3 separate regions of the Homo sapiens genome follow, and regions 1 and 2 are each linked to region 3. The links are contacts of gene promoters, found by promoter capture Hi-C in blood cells and fetal thymus (Javierre and others, 2016). All regions are on one chromosome and are shown on one strand. The core of a region is centred on a gene start or on the middle of the fragment in contact, and the rest is flanking DNA. Distances in the headings are between cores, read along the strand shown. Region 1 has its middle 9.6 kb from the start of ARPC2. Region 2 overlaps ARPC2 (actin related protein 2/3 complex subunit 2). Region 3 holds the start of CXCR2 (C-X-C motif chemokine receptor 2).

The links. Contacts are between HindIII fragments. The CHiCAGO score rates a contact against its expected background, and 5 or more counts as called.
Region 1: a contact is called between a fragment that was not itself captured here and the fragment with the promoter of CXCR2 in region 3, in 1 of 17 cell types (neutrophils). The highest score is 6.6, in neutrophils.
Region 2: a contact is called between a fragment that was not itself captured here and the fragment with the promoter of CXCR2 in region 3, in 1 of 17 cell types (neutrophils). The highest score is 9.1, in neutrophils.

Annotation. Positions count from the first base shown.
Region 1 is chr2:218,205,136-218,210,051 of GRCh38, forward strand. No RefSeq gene overlaps it. Among named protein-coding and RNA genes, the nearest start is that of ARPC2, 9.6 kb to the right of the region's middle. The HindIII fragment of the contact is 4,060 bases long and covers 267-4,326 here.
Region 2 is chr2:218,225,812-218,230,419 of GRCh38, forward strand. It overlaps ARPC2 (actin related protein 2/3 complex subunit 2), which reads left to right. Exons shown (of 11, transcript NM_152862.3): 3 at 109-143; 4 at 2,927-3,039. Among named protein-coding and RNA genes, the nearest start is that of ARPC2, 11 kb to the left of the region's middle. The HindIII fragment of the contact is 3,033 bases long and covers 838-3,870 here.
Region 3 is chr2:218,124,632-218,128,960 of GRCh38, forward strand. CXCR2 (C-X-C motif chemokine receptor 2) reads left to right here and starts at 1,397. Exons shown (of 3, transcript NM_001557.4): 1 at 1,397-1,722. The HindIII fragment of the contact is 2,247 bases long and covers 1-1,831 here.

The DNA of each region.
Region 1 (4,916 bases), core at 1,047-3,546, 81 kb after region 3:
AACAGAGCTCATGTTTGTATGTTGGCCTTGCACCAACTTTGCTTAATTCCTTTACCAGCTATAGTAGGTTTTTGAGATTCTATGGGATTTTCTATACAGAGAGCCAAGTCATCTACAAATCGTGGTAGTTTTACTTCTTATTTTGCTATTTAGAGGCCTTTTATTTATTTTTCTTGCCAAATTGCTCTGTCTAGGACTTCCAGTATAATGTTGAATAGCACAGATGACAACAGACATCTTTGTCTTGCTTCTGATTCTAGAAACTAAGCTTTTAGTCTTTCACCATTGAGAATGATGTGTTGTGGGATTTTTTTCATAAATGCCCTTTATCATGTAAAGGAAGTTCCCTTTTATCTTAACCCATTCTGCTGCTATCACAAAATACCTTAGAGTGAGTAATTTACAAATAATAGAAATGTATTTCTGCCAGGCACAATGGCTCATGCCTGTAATACCAACAATTTGGGAGGCCAAAGTGGGAAGATTATTTGAGGCCAGGAGTTCAAGACCACCTCAGGTAACATAGCGAGGACTTATCTCTATTAGACATTTAAAAATTAGCTAGGCATGATGGCAGGCACCTACAGTCCCAGCTACTTGGGAAGCTGAAGTGGGAGGACTGCTCGAGCCAAGGAGTTTGAGGCAGCAGTGAGCCAGGATCTTGTCACTGCACTCCAGCCTGGGCAACAGAGCGAGACCCTGTCTCCTCACCACCAAAAAGAAGAAAGAAATTTGCTTCTCACAGTTCTGGAGGCTGGGAAGTCCAACACCAAAATGCCAGAAGATTTGGTGTTTGGTGAGGGCCTGTTCCATATATAGCATTTTCTTGAGGCATCCTCACAATAAGCAGGAAAAGGTAGAAGGGCAAAAGGAGACCAACACGGTGTCCTCACGTAGCAGAAGAGATTAAAGGGGAAAGGGGAGCCAGTTAGTTCTCTCAAGCCCTTTTATGAGGGCACTAATAACCTCCTTCAGGACCCACATCTTAATTCTATTGCATTGGGGTTGAGTTTCAACATATGAATTTTGGAGGGACACATACATTCAAATCATAGCACCTACTATTTCCAGTGTTCTGAGTTTTTATCATCAAAAGGTGCTGAATTTTATCAAATGCTTTTTCTGCATCTATTGAGATGACCATGTTTTTTCTTGTCATTTTATTATTGTGGCATATCACATTGATTGATTTCCTTGTGTTGAACCACTCTTGGTTTCTGGGATAAATTCCACTTAGACATGGTATGTGATTCTGTTTGTTTGTTTGTTTGTTTGTTTGTTTGTTTGAGACAGGGTCTCATTCTGGTTGTCCAGGCTGGAGCACAGTGGTGCAATCTCAGCTCACTGCAACCTCTGCCTCCAGGGTTCAAGTGATTCTCATGTGTCAGCCTCCATAGCTGGAATTACAGGCACATGCCATCACACCAGCTAATTTTTGTTTTTTTGTAGAGATAGCATTCCCCATGTTGGCCAGGCTGGTCTCAAACTCCTGACCTCTAGCGATCCTCCTGCCTCAACCTCCCAAAGTCATGGGATTACAGGCGCGAGCCACCACACCCAGCCAATTATTATAAAGTGCTATTGGATTTAGTTTGCTAGCATTTGGTTGGGGATTCCTGTGTCTATTCATAGAGATATTGGCCTGAATTTCGCTTCTCTCATGGCATCTTTGTCTGGATATCAGAGTAATACTGGCCTCATAGAATGTGTTAGAAAATGTTCGTTCCTCTTCCATTTTTTGGAAATGTTTGAGTAGAGTTGGTGTTAATTCTTCTTTAAATTGGCTAAAAATGTGTTGTTCAATTTCCCTGTCTTTGTGAATTTTCCAGTTTTTTTCTTCTGCTATTTATTTGTATCTTCATTCCACTGTGGTTGAAGAGGATACTTTGTATGATTTTGATTTTTTTAATGTATTGAGAATCATTTTCTGGCCTAGCATATGTTCTATCCTAGAAACTGCTCCATGTACACTTGAGAAGTATATTCTGCTGTTGTTATGTGGAGTGATCTGTGTTATCTGCAGTCTAGTTAGTTTATGATGTTCTTCAAGTCCTCTATTTCCTTGCCAATCTTCTGTCTAGGTGTTCACTCTATTATTGAAAGTAGGACATTGAAGTCTCCAACTATTATCGTAGAACTATTTTTCCCTTTAATTCTGTCCATATTTGCTTTATATATTTTGGACTCTGTTGTTTGATGTGTATATGTTTATAATTATTATATTTTCCTGATGAATTGATCCTATTATCAATATAAACACTTTTTGTCTCTTATAACAATTCTTGACTTAAAATATATTCTTTCTGATACTAGCATAGCCATTCCAGCTCTATTTTGGTTACAGTTTGCCTAGAATATCTTTTTTTTTTTTTTCAGAGACACAGTCTCACCCTGCCACCCAGACTGGAATGTAGTGGCACAAACATAGCTCACTGCAGCCATGGCTGCATAGTATTCCCGGACTAAAGCAATCCTTCCACCTCAACCTCTCCAGTAGCTGGAACCAGGTGTGCACCACCATTCTTGGCTAATTTTTTTTATTTTTAGTAGAGACAGGGTCTTGCCATGTTACCTAGGCTGATCTCAAACTCCTGGCTCAGGTGATCTTCCTGCCTTGGTCTTCCAAAGTGCTGGGACTGGCCAGGCATGGTGGCTCATGCCTGTAATACCAGCACTTTGGGAGGCTGAGGTGGGTGGATCACTTGAGGTTAGGAGCTCGAGACTAGCCTGGCCAACATGGTGAAACCCCATCTCTACTTAAAATACAAAAAAATTAGCTGGGGTGTGGTGGTACCCACCTGCAGTCCCAGCTACTCGGGAGGCTGGGGCAGGAGAATGACTCGAACCCCAGAGACAGAGGTTGCAGTGAGCCACTTCACTCCAGCCTGGGCAACAGAGCGAGACTCTGTCTCAAAAAAAACAAAAGACAAAGTGCTGAGATTACAGGTATGAGCCACTGTGCCCAGTCCCAGAATATATTTTTCTATTCTTTGATTTTCAACCTATTTGCATCTTTGGATCTTAAGTTAGTCTCTAGTAAAAGCATATAGTTGGATCATTTTTTAAAACTTCATTTTGCTGGCCAGGTGCAGTGGCTCACGCCTGTAATCCCAGCACTTTAGGAGGCCGAGGCGGGCAGATCACTTGAGGTTGTGGTGACTCACGCCTATAATCCCAGCACTTTAGGAGGCCAAGACGGGCAGATCACTTGAGGTCAGGAGTTTGAGACCAGCCTGGCCAACATGGTGAAACCCCATTTCTACTAAAAAAAAAAAAAAAAAAATAGCTGGACATGGTAGCATGTGCCTGTAGTCCGAGCTACACATGAGGCTGAGACAGGAGACTCGCTTGAACCCGGGAGGCGGAGGTTGCAGTGAGCCAAGATCGTACCACTGCACTTCAGCCTGGGCGACAGAGCAAGATTCTGTCTCAAAAAAAAAAAAAAATTTATTTTGCCAATCTCTGTCTTTTAATTGTTTAATCCATTTACATTTTAAATGATTATCGATAATAAAGAACTTACCTCTACTATCATGCTATTTATTTTCTTTTTCTTTTTTTTTTTTTACTTTTAATTTAGGTTCAGGGTACATGTGCGGGTAATAAGCATAATACTCAATAGGTAGTTTTTTTGATCCTCACCCTCCTCCCACCCTTCACCCTCAAGTAGGCCCCGGTGTCTCTTGTTCCCTTCTTTGTGTCCATATATACTCAATGTTTACCTCCCACTTACAAGTAAGAATATGTGGTATTTGGCTGTCTTTTTTTTTTTTTTTTTGAGATGGATTTTCCCTCTCTCACCCAGGCTGGAGTTCAGTGTCCCAATCTTGGCCCACTGCAACCTCCACCTCTCAGGTTCAAGTAATTCTCCTGTCTCAGCCTCAAGAGTAGCTGCGATTACAGGCACAAGACACCAGAGCTGGCTAATTTTTGTATTTTTCGTAGAGACGGGGTTTCATCATGTTGAACAGGCTAGTCTCGAACTCCTGACCTCAGGTGATCCACCCGCCTCAGCCTCCCAAAGTGCTGGAATTAGAGGTGTGAGCCACTATGCCTGGCTCCTTCAAGTTTTGAAAGAACATTTTACAGGCTATAATATTCCTGGTTGACAGGTTTTTTTATTTCACCACTTTAAAGATATCATCATTCCACTGCCTTCATGGTTTCTGATGAAAAATTAGCTGTTGTTCTTATGCAGGAGACTTGTAAATGAGTCACTTCTCTCTTTCACTTTAAAGATTTTCTCTTTATTTCTGGCTTTCAACAGTTTTGACTATAATATGTCTCAGTGTGAATCTCTGAGTTTATCCTGCTTTAAGTTTATCAAGCTTATTAGATGTATTGATTCACATCTTTCACCACATCTGGGAACTTTATGGCCATTACTTGTTTAAATATTTTTCCTTCCCCTTTCTCTCTCTCTCCTCTTTCTGTAACTCCCATAACGTGTGTTTTGATATGCTTAATTTGTGTCCCACATGTCCAATAAGCTCTGTTCAATTGTTTTATTTTTGTTCCTCAAACTGGGTAATTTTAACTGCCCTATCTTCAAGTTCACTGATTCTTTCTTCTGCCTGCTCAAATGTGCTGTTGACCCCCTCTAGTAATTTCTGCACTTCAGCTATTGTACTTCTCAGCTCCAAAATTTTTATTTGGTTCCTTTTTATTATTTCTATCTCTTTATGATATTCTATGCTTGTATATACACCATGCTCCCGATTTTCCTTAGCTATTCTTCATGGTTTCCATGAGCTCTTTTCTTTTTTCCTTCAGCATATTTAAGACAGTTAAGTCTTTTTATATAAATCCAACATCTGGGCTCTTCACGGATAGTTTCTATCAATTTTTTTCTATATTCCTTTTACTATGAATGAACCATACTTTCATTTTATGTTGCATGCTTTATAATTTTCTGA
Region 2 (4,608 bases), core at 1,104-3,603, 100 kb after region 3:
ATACAGAATGGTCTGATCTTAAGTGAAGCTCAGGTGCCTTTCCAGTTCCCTTTGAAGGTAAGCAGCAATACAGTCATCTTAACTGAGGACCTTTTTTGTTGTTTACAGAAACAAACCGGAAGCAGTAGAAGTAACATTTGCAGGTAAGCATCTTTATCTCAGCCCTCTGAAGAGAAGGTACAATATGAAAAATAGGAAATAGGCTGGGTGCAGTGGCACATGCCTGTAATCCCAGCACTTTGGGAGTCCGAGGCAGGTGGATCACCTGATGTCAAGAGTTAAAGAACAGCCTGGCAAACATGGTGAAACCCCCTCTACTAAAAATACAAAAATTAGCCGGGCATGGTGGTGGGCACCTGTAATCCCAGCTACTCGGAAGGCTGAGGCAGGAGAATCACTTGAACTGGGAGGCAGGAGTTGCTGTGAGCTGAGATCACACCACTGCACTCCAGCCTGGGCGATACAGTGAGACTGTCTCAAAAAAAAAAAGAGAGAGACAAGAAAAGAAAATTGTACCTAAAATAAGCTTTGACATGGATTGGGTGCGGTAGCTCATGCATGTAATCCCAGCACTTTGGGAGGCCACGGCAGGCGGATCACGACGTCAGGAGATCGAGACTATCCTGGCTAACATGATGAAACCCTGTCTGTACTAAAAATACAAAAAATTAGCTGGGCATGGTGGCGGGCACCTGTAGTCCCAGCTACTCCGGAGGCCGAGGCAGGAGAATGGCATGAACCCAGGAGGCGGAGCTTGCAGTGAGCAGACATCGCGCCACTGCACTCCAGCCTGGGCGACAGTGAGACTCCATCTCAAAAAAAAAAAAAAAAAAAAAAAGCTTTGACATTTTGGATACTGTCCCTCATCAGGTCTTTTTGAGCTCTTTATAATAGATGACCATTTCATGTATTTAATCCACTGATGACTGACAATATAAAGTTACCTGCTGATAAATTAGAAGTTTGGATTTAATTTTGTGGTAAAACTGAGGTTTTTTTGTTGTGTTTTTTTTTTAATTTGGAAATATTACATTATCTTCAAGTAGCTGTCAGTCTTAGTTTGCCTAGCACTAGAGTAGTAGGGAAACATGAACAGCTAGAGATGTGTTCATCAAGTCAGAGAGAGATGTTGCTGCTTTCTGTTCCCTATAAAGAATTAGGTGTTGGTACTATTTACTTGTTAGGTGAATGAACTCAGAGGAATACAACCACCCTTTCTACAACAAGAGTCCTCGACAAGATGATCTTGGAAGACTTTTGCAGCTCTGAAGTGCTGTTACCTGGAGGCCAGGCACCATCCCTTTACCCTCCTACTAACTGGCATTGCCAGATATCCCTTCGTGATTCCCATGACAGCTCCATAAAGTGATGGCACTCAGCACCTAATTCTAGTTTCAGGAACCTATTCCTAGTTTCAGGAATTACACAGGCTGAGTCAGTCCTGTGTACTGCAGAAAGATAGAACCGAAAAAGAGGGGAGTCCTATAGATTAGAAGCAACTCAAAAGATAACCAAATGCAATGTGTGGATATTGTTTGCATCTTAATTCAAATAAGACAACAATGCTTAAAATTTTTTGAGACAGTAGAGAATATTTAAATACTTGACTGAATATTTGTTTTGTTTTTTTGAGACTGAGTCTCACTCTGTCACCCAGGCTGGAGTGCAGTGGCGTTGATAATCTGCTCACTGCCGCCTCCACCTCCCCGAGTTCAAGCGATTCTCCTGCCTCCGCCTCTCAAGTAGCTGGGACTACAGATCTCCACCACCACACCCGGCTAATTTTTTTTTTTTTTCCAGACAGCGTCTTGCTCTGTCGCCCAGGCTGGAGTGCAATGGCATGATCTTGGCTCACTGCAACCTCCACCCCCCGGGTTCAAGCGATTCTCCTGTCTCAGCCTCCCAAGTAGCTGGGATTACAGGCATGTGCCACCACACCCAGCTAATTTTTTGTAATTTTTGTAGAGACAGGGTTTCACCATGTTGGCCAGGCTGGTTTTGAACTCCTGACCTCAAGTGATCCACCCACCTCGGCCTCCCAAAGTTAACAGGCTGGGTTAACAGGCTTGAGCCACTGTGCCCGGCCTTGACTGAATATTTGATATTAAGAAATTGTTTTTAAAAATTTAGGCATGACACTAGTATCATGGTTATGTTTTTTAACAAATAGTCTTCTGTATCTTCCAAAGATATATTCTGAGTATTTATGGATGAAATTATGTGTTGTATCTGGGATTTGCTTCAAAATAAATCAATGGGAAGGAGGATGTCTAAATGAAACAAGAATTGTCCATGTGTTAATAATTGTTGAGGCTGGGCAAGGTGGTTCACGCCTGTAATCCCAGCACTTTGGGAGGCTGAGGTGGGCAGATCATGAGGTCAGGAGTTCGAGACCAGCCTGGCCAACACAGTGAAACCCCGTCTGTACTAAAAATACAAAAATTAGCTGGGTGTGGTGGCACATGCCTGTAGTCCCAGCTACTCGGGAGGCTGAGACAGGAGAATCTCTTGAACCTGGGAGGCAGAGGTTGCAGTGAGCCGAGACCACACCATTGCACTCCAGCCTGGGTGACAGAGTAAGACTCTATCTCAAAAAAAAAAAAATCGTTGAAGCCTCATGATGGAGATGAGAGTTCATTATACTGTTCGTTCTGCTTATATACATGTAAAATCCAATTATTTCAGCACCAAGCTGTGATTAAGGAAAGAATAGCTTTGTAATTTTAAGAAAGAGCAAAGAAACAAGTGCTCAGCAATTCTATCCCAGTGTTTCTGCTGATTTGTCACATGGATTTAAAATAAGTTCCATTTTACTTACATGCCTCCTTAAAAGTGGTCTTCCTTGTGGCCTACGGCAAGGTAGGCGCTTGGAGAGATTATTTCCCATTCCCAAATTGTTACGCAATCTTATTTGCTTTCCTCACAGATTTCGATGGGGTCCTCTATCATATTTCAAATCCTAATGGAGACAAAACAAAAGTGATGGTCAGTATTTCTTTGAAATTCTACAAGGAACTTCAGGCACATGGTGCTGATGAGGTAAGATCCACATCATTTTCCTTGGGACTCTTGTTTCCTCACCTTTCATTGGCAGTTTGCCATTCATGGAAGATCCATGGCACTAAATCACCCCCACATGACTACTTGCTCACCTAACTAGGGGCTCTTGACTTGATTCCTATAATGAATTGTGTTTCCTAGAAAAGGTTTTGACTCTTGCTTGCTTGCTTTAAAACAATGGAAACAAAAATAGCTTTAGTTCTCCAAAAACATAGCAAAGAATACTTTTCCTTGATCAGTACAAAAATAGCTGTTGCAAGAATTAGGTTCTGTTCTATTTTTGTAATATTATCAAGGCAGATAGATAACTTCTAGCTTGTTTAAATTTTATAGTCTCAGGTTCTCATTCTGGAGGCTTAGGCACAAATAGCTGTCTTTTGAAATTTTTAATTAAAGCTCTTTAAAGCTACCGTCTTTAAATATCTCTTCTTTATAACTACCATAGGGGAAATAAGAAAGATGTCCAGACATTATGAAACTTCGGTGGCCATGCCTTGTTCACTGGCTTCTTTAAATAGTTAAGTAGCAGGTTTGGTTCCTGTTGAACTGTATTTGCTCTGAGGAGAGCCATTTATGGAAGAAAGAAAATGCTATTACACCAGTTTGTGCACGCTGTGGTTGGGTCTCAAAGCAGGAAATATGACTCAGTTCCTGAATCAGTTTTCAAATTTCTTAGTTTTAACAAACTAGGTTCTCCTTAATCTGTTAAATGAAGATATAACCATAGCTGTTTCTTTCTGAAAAGTAGTAGCTTTTGAATTATTTAAAACTTATATAATAAAAGATGATTTGTAAAGGAATATGGTCAAAAGCTTGTTTAATTTTTTAGCATAAAAACTAAAATTAGTCTTAATACCAAGAGCCATTGGTTGCTTCCCTTAGTTATTCAAATGCAATTGATTTTCTCATAAGTTCAAAGAAAGAAGAAATATTTAGAGGATTTGGAATCCAGATTAGTTTACTGGAAAAAGAAAAGCTTCAGAAAGAAGACCTAGTGCTTTTATAAAGCTTATGAAGAATTGTTTTGTAAAAGATAGTGGCTGACACTTCTTTACCAGATAAAGAGTGAAAGAAAACAAATGGCTATTAAAGCAGCCCTGCCTCTTTTTTTTTTTTGAGGTGGAGTCTCACTCTGTTGCCCCAGGCTGTACTGCAGTGGCGCCAGCTCAGCTCACTGCAACCTCCAACTCCTGGGTTCAAGCAGTTCATCTGCCTCAGCCTCCTGAGTAGCTGGGATTACAGGCATGCACCGCTACACCTGGCTAATTTTTTGTACTTTTCATAGAGATGGCGTTTCACCACATTGGCCAGGCTGCTCTCAAACTTCTGACCTCAGGTGATCTGCCTGCCTCGACCTCCCACAGTGCTAAGATTGCAGGTGTGAGCCACCGTGCCCAGCCTTTTCTTTTTTTTTTCTTTTTTTTTTTTTTTTTTTTTTTTGACAAGGTCTTGTTCTGTCACCTAGGCTGGAGTGCAGTGGCACAATCACAGCCACTGCACCCCTCAACCTCCCAGGCTCAAGCAGTCCTCTCACCTCAGCCTCCTGAG
Region 3 (4,329 bases), core at 147-2,646:
CCTGAATCTGGGGAGTGCTCCTCCCGTGGGGATGCAATCACCCTGATTTGTTCCAGGAAGGCTGTCTATAGGTGCATCAATGCTGCGTTCCTTTGGGAGAAGCCCCAGCTCTGTCTGCAGTGGCGTACCAGGGGGAACAAGGATCCCTTCTCTAAGACCCTTCACAATACCAGAGGCTGCCTGCCTATTGGGTAGAGGTGCAAACTTTCCCCCACTCTGCCCAGCACAGCAATTGTCTCTGCAATAGGAAACTTCCCACCAGTGAAAAGATCTGGGACTCAAGCCCTGCCATTCAGATTCTTTTGTTCCACAGGGTATTCCCTTGATGTGATGTTCTTCCCCTTCCTCTAGGAATGGGACTTCCTGGAAGCCAGACTACAGTGCTCTTCTGGGTCTAGCCACCCAGTGGGCCTACCAGACTCTGGGCTGGTGCTAGGGAATGTCTGCAAGGGATCCAGTGGTGTTACCTGTCTTCAAGACTCCCAGCAGTGAATACCAGCACCATCTCTGACAGAAGTGGGAGGGGAGTGATGCAAACTCTGCAAGATTCCTTGGTTGTAGATAGACTTAGAGTATTGACTTTCTCAAATGCTGGTTATAATTATAGTGAACTTATCACGTGGACAGACGCAGGACTTCTGGTTAGCCAGGGTGTTGTAAGCAGTGGTGATAGCTGAGAATATGCAGCCGTTTTCTCCTTCCTGGGTACAGTGCTATTCTGCCTAGAGGTGAGTTTTTGCCTGTCTCACAGAGTAGGCTGCAGCCTGCCACTTCTTTCAAAAGTTCTGTGGATTCTTTCAGCTTTCCTGTTCAGTTCCTGCATTCGTTCCTGGAGAAAAAAAAATTATAGTGTGAATCTCTACACGCTATTCTGTCCTTCCAGATGGGAGAGGCATGCTAATGCTGCCTCCAATCTGTTGTCTTGGGGGGAAAGAAAGCAATTTGTTTTTGTTTTTTTTTTTAATGGATTTGCTGGGTTTAGTAACCCAGAGGTCATTGGGAACCTTGGCGAAAGTTATTTCAGTGGAGCAGTAGGAAGGAAGCCAGTTGCAGTGTCTTTGTTGAGCAGCAGAGGGGAGGTGAGGAAGTGGAGAGAGCAGCTGTGGTGGCTGAAGGGTGCTAGGACAGAGGGAGCATGATAAAGCCATAAGTAAGATGTGGTAGAAGGGAAAGAGCCAGGACAGAGGGGAGAGAAAGCAGGATCCTCAAGGACCAGAGAGGCAGTGGGTCCCACAGTCAGGTGCGGGGATTCAACAGAAACAGAAGGAGGGACGCTTCTCACTCTGACCCCGGAAAGAAGGAAGAAACTGCGTGCGAGTTCAGACAAGTCCGTTGGCGGGGGCTGGGATGCCTGCATCTTCCTTGTTAAAAAAGGAAGTGCAGGTTCAAAACATTCAGAGACAGAAGGTGGATAGACAAATCTCCACCTTCAGACTGGTAGGCTCCTCCAGAAGCCATCAGACAGGAAGATGTGAAAATCCCCAGCACTCATCCCAGAATCACTAAGTGGCACCTGTCCTGGGCCAAAGTCCCAGGACAGACCTCATTGTTCCTCTGTGGGAATACCTCCCCAGGAGGGCATCCTGGATTTCCCCCTTGCAACCCAGGTCAGAAGTTTCATCGTCAAGGTTGTTTCATCTTTTTTTTCCTGTCTAACAGCTCTGACTACCACCCAACCTTGAGGCACAGTGAAGACATCGGTGGCCACTCCAATAACAGCAGGTAGGTGACTTGTTCAGTCTGAGATGCTGGCAACATATTTCTAATGGAAGAGATCTGGAAACTTCAGCCTCCTCTGAGGCCCCTGAGAACTGGGGTGATGAAGTGTAGAAGCTTAGAGCTAAAGACAACTAAGTCTTCACCTAGACAGTGTTGCACAAAAGAATTTTCTGCAATAATAGAAATGTCCTAGACCTGCCCTGCCCAGTATGGTAGCCACTAGTCACACGTGGCCACGGAGCACTTGAAATGTGACTAGTGTGACTGCGGATCTCAATTTTTATTTCATTTTATTTTATTTTATTTTTTCTTTTTTGAGACAGGCTCTCACTCCAATGCCCAGGCTGGAGTGCTGTGGCATGATCTTGGCTCATTGCAACCTCAACCTACAGGTCTAGGTGATTCTCCCACCTCAGCCTCCCAAGTAGCTGCAGCTACAGGCATGTGCCGCTACACTCAGCTAATTTTTTGGGTTTTGTTTGTTTGTTTGTTTTGTTTTTGTTTTTGTAAAGACAGGGTTTCGTCATGTTGCCCAGGCTGATCTCAAACTCCTGGGCTCAAGCGATCCGCCCACCTCGGCCTCCCAAAGTGCTGGGATTACAGGCATGGGCCACCTTGCCTGGCCTTTATTTTAATTAATTTTAATTTAAATAGCTACACATGGCTAGTAGCTAGCATGCTGAACAGAATAGAATTAGAAGAAGCTCCCGTTTTCCAAAGGCACACAACAAGGCCCAGAAAGAATGACTTCTCCAAGCAGGATTAGAAGCCAGGTTTTTGTTTTGTTTTTGTTTGAGACAGGGTTTTGCTCTGTCGCCCAGGCTGGAATGCAATGGCACAATCTCGGCTCACTGCAACTTCTGCCTCCCGAGTTCAAGCAATTCTTATGCCTCAGCCTCTGGAGTAGCTGGGATTACAGGCGTGCGCTGCCACGCCTGGCTAATTTTTGCATTTTTAATAGAGGCGGGGTTTCACCATGTTGGCCAGGCTGTTCTGTAACTCCTGGCCTCGAGTGATCCACTCACCTCAGCCTCCCAAAGTGCTGGGATTACAGGCATGAGCCACCGCACCAGAAGCCAGTTTTTTAATTCACTCCACCCTGCATATAACCGCAGTGATCTCCATGGAAATGAAATTGACCTAAGGAGCATGAAGAAGGAGGCTGACTGGGAAATGTCAAATCTGGGCTCCCCTCTCTACATCCTTTGTATCTGACTTTCTGGGACACAGGGAGGTACCTAATGGAGCTCAGAAACTTTAGGCTGGGATCCTGCTCCTTATTACAGTGAACAGGAGATAGGATTTGAGAGCAGATTTTTAGAAGTTTTTTAAACTGAAAACCTAGTTCAGCTGTGTCACTCTAGGTATGTTGCTTAACCTCTCAGAGTCTTCATTTCCTCTTCCAGAAAGTGCCTGCTTCGTGAGGTTATCCTGAGGATTAATTGATACAAATTCTGGAAAGCACTTTGCCCAGAAGCTAGAACCTGGTAGACACTCAACATTACAGCTAATATGACAATTAATATCCAGGTCAAAGTAAATTAGATGTCATCAAAGTCAGCCTTGAAAGCAGACCCACTGCCGACTGCTTTCCCTTGACTGGGGATGTAGTGAGAGAGGCAGCATGTTATCAGTGAATAAACTATTCCAGTAATAATGATCACAACAATAAAGGTTAACATTGTACTTTATGTATGTTTTACGTGATTTACAAGCAATCCCTCATTTCATCCTCACCACAACCCCATGAGTTGGATTCTGTATTGGCCCCATTTTACAGATGAGTAAACTGAGACTCAGAAAGGAAAAGTCACTTGCCCAGAATTGCTCAGCTAGCCCTGGTGTCATCTGCCTCTCTCCATATGTAATAAGCCTCTATCTGGTTTTAGCATCAACTGGCCAGGTGGCATTGCATTCTTCCCCAGCTTGGGAAAGAGAGGTGACAAAGACTAAGAAACATTTGCTGAACAGTTGGACTCAAAGATTCTTTCTTTGGGGTAGGCAGGCAATTTAAGTGCGTCTGCCACAGGGATTGAGTCCCCTCTGGGCCCTGGGATGCATGGAGCAAGAGATAGGGTAAGGAATAATGGAGGGGATTGAGGTGTTGTTCACTGGGGTGGGCACTTGTGAGACAGCAGAATTAGTGTTCATGGCTCTGCCTGGATTAATTCATTCATTTGTAATCAATAGCAAATTGATAAAATACATTCTTAGGGTCACTTAACATTGTTTTTAAAAATGCATTTGGACTTTGGTGGAATCTTCCCTTTTACCAAAAGGCTTTCTTTCCAAATTAGAGGGTCTTGGCTCCAAGGGTGGTAAGCTGCTGCAGAGTTGGTGTCCTCAGACCCAATGCCAAGTGTGCGAAACAAGAAAGAATATCAATACCCAGAGATGGACTTGTGGTCAGAGCAGATGGTTGGGGAGTGAGGGGAAAGACAAGAGGCAGGAGTGGGGCCAAGAAGTAGAGGCATCAGGTCCAGGGAGGAACGCCACCAGACTCACCAGAAGCTTTAGTCCATCTCTGTCATTTTAATGCACTGCTCCCTTTGACATGTGAAAGACATTGAAGGCTATAGTACTGCCAATGGTATGATGGGGAAGCCTGAG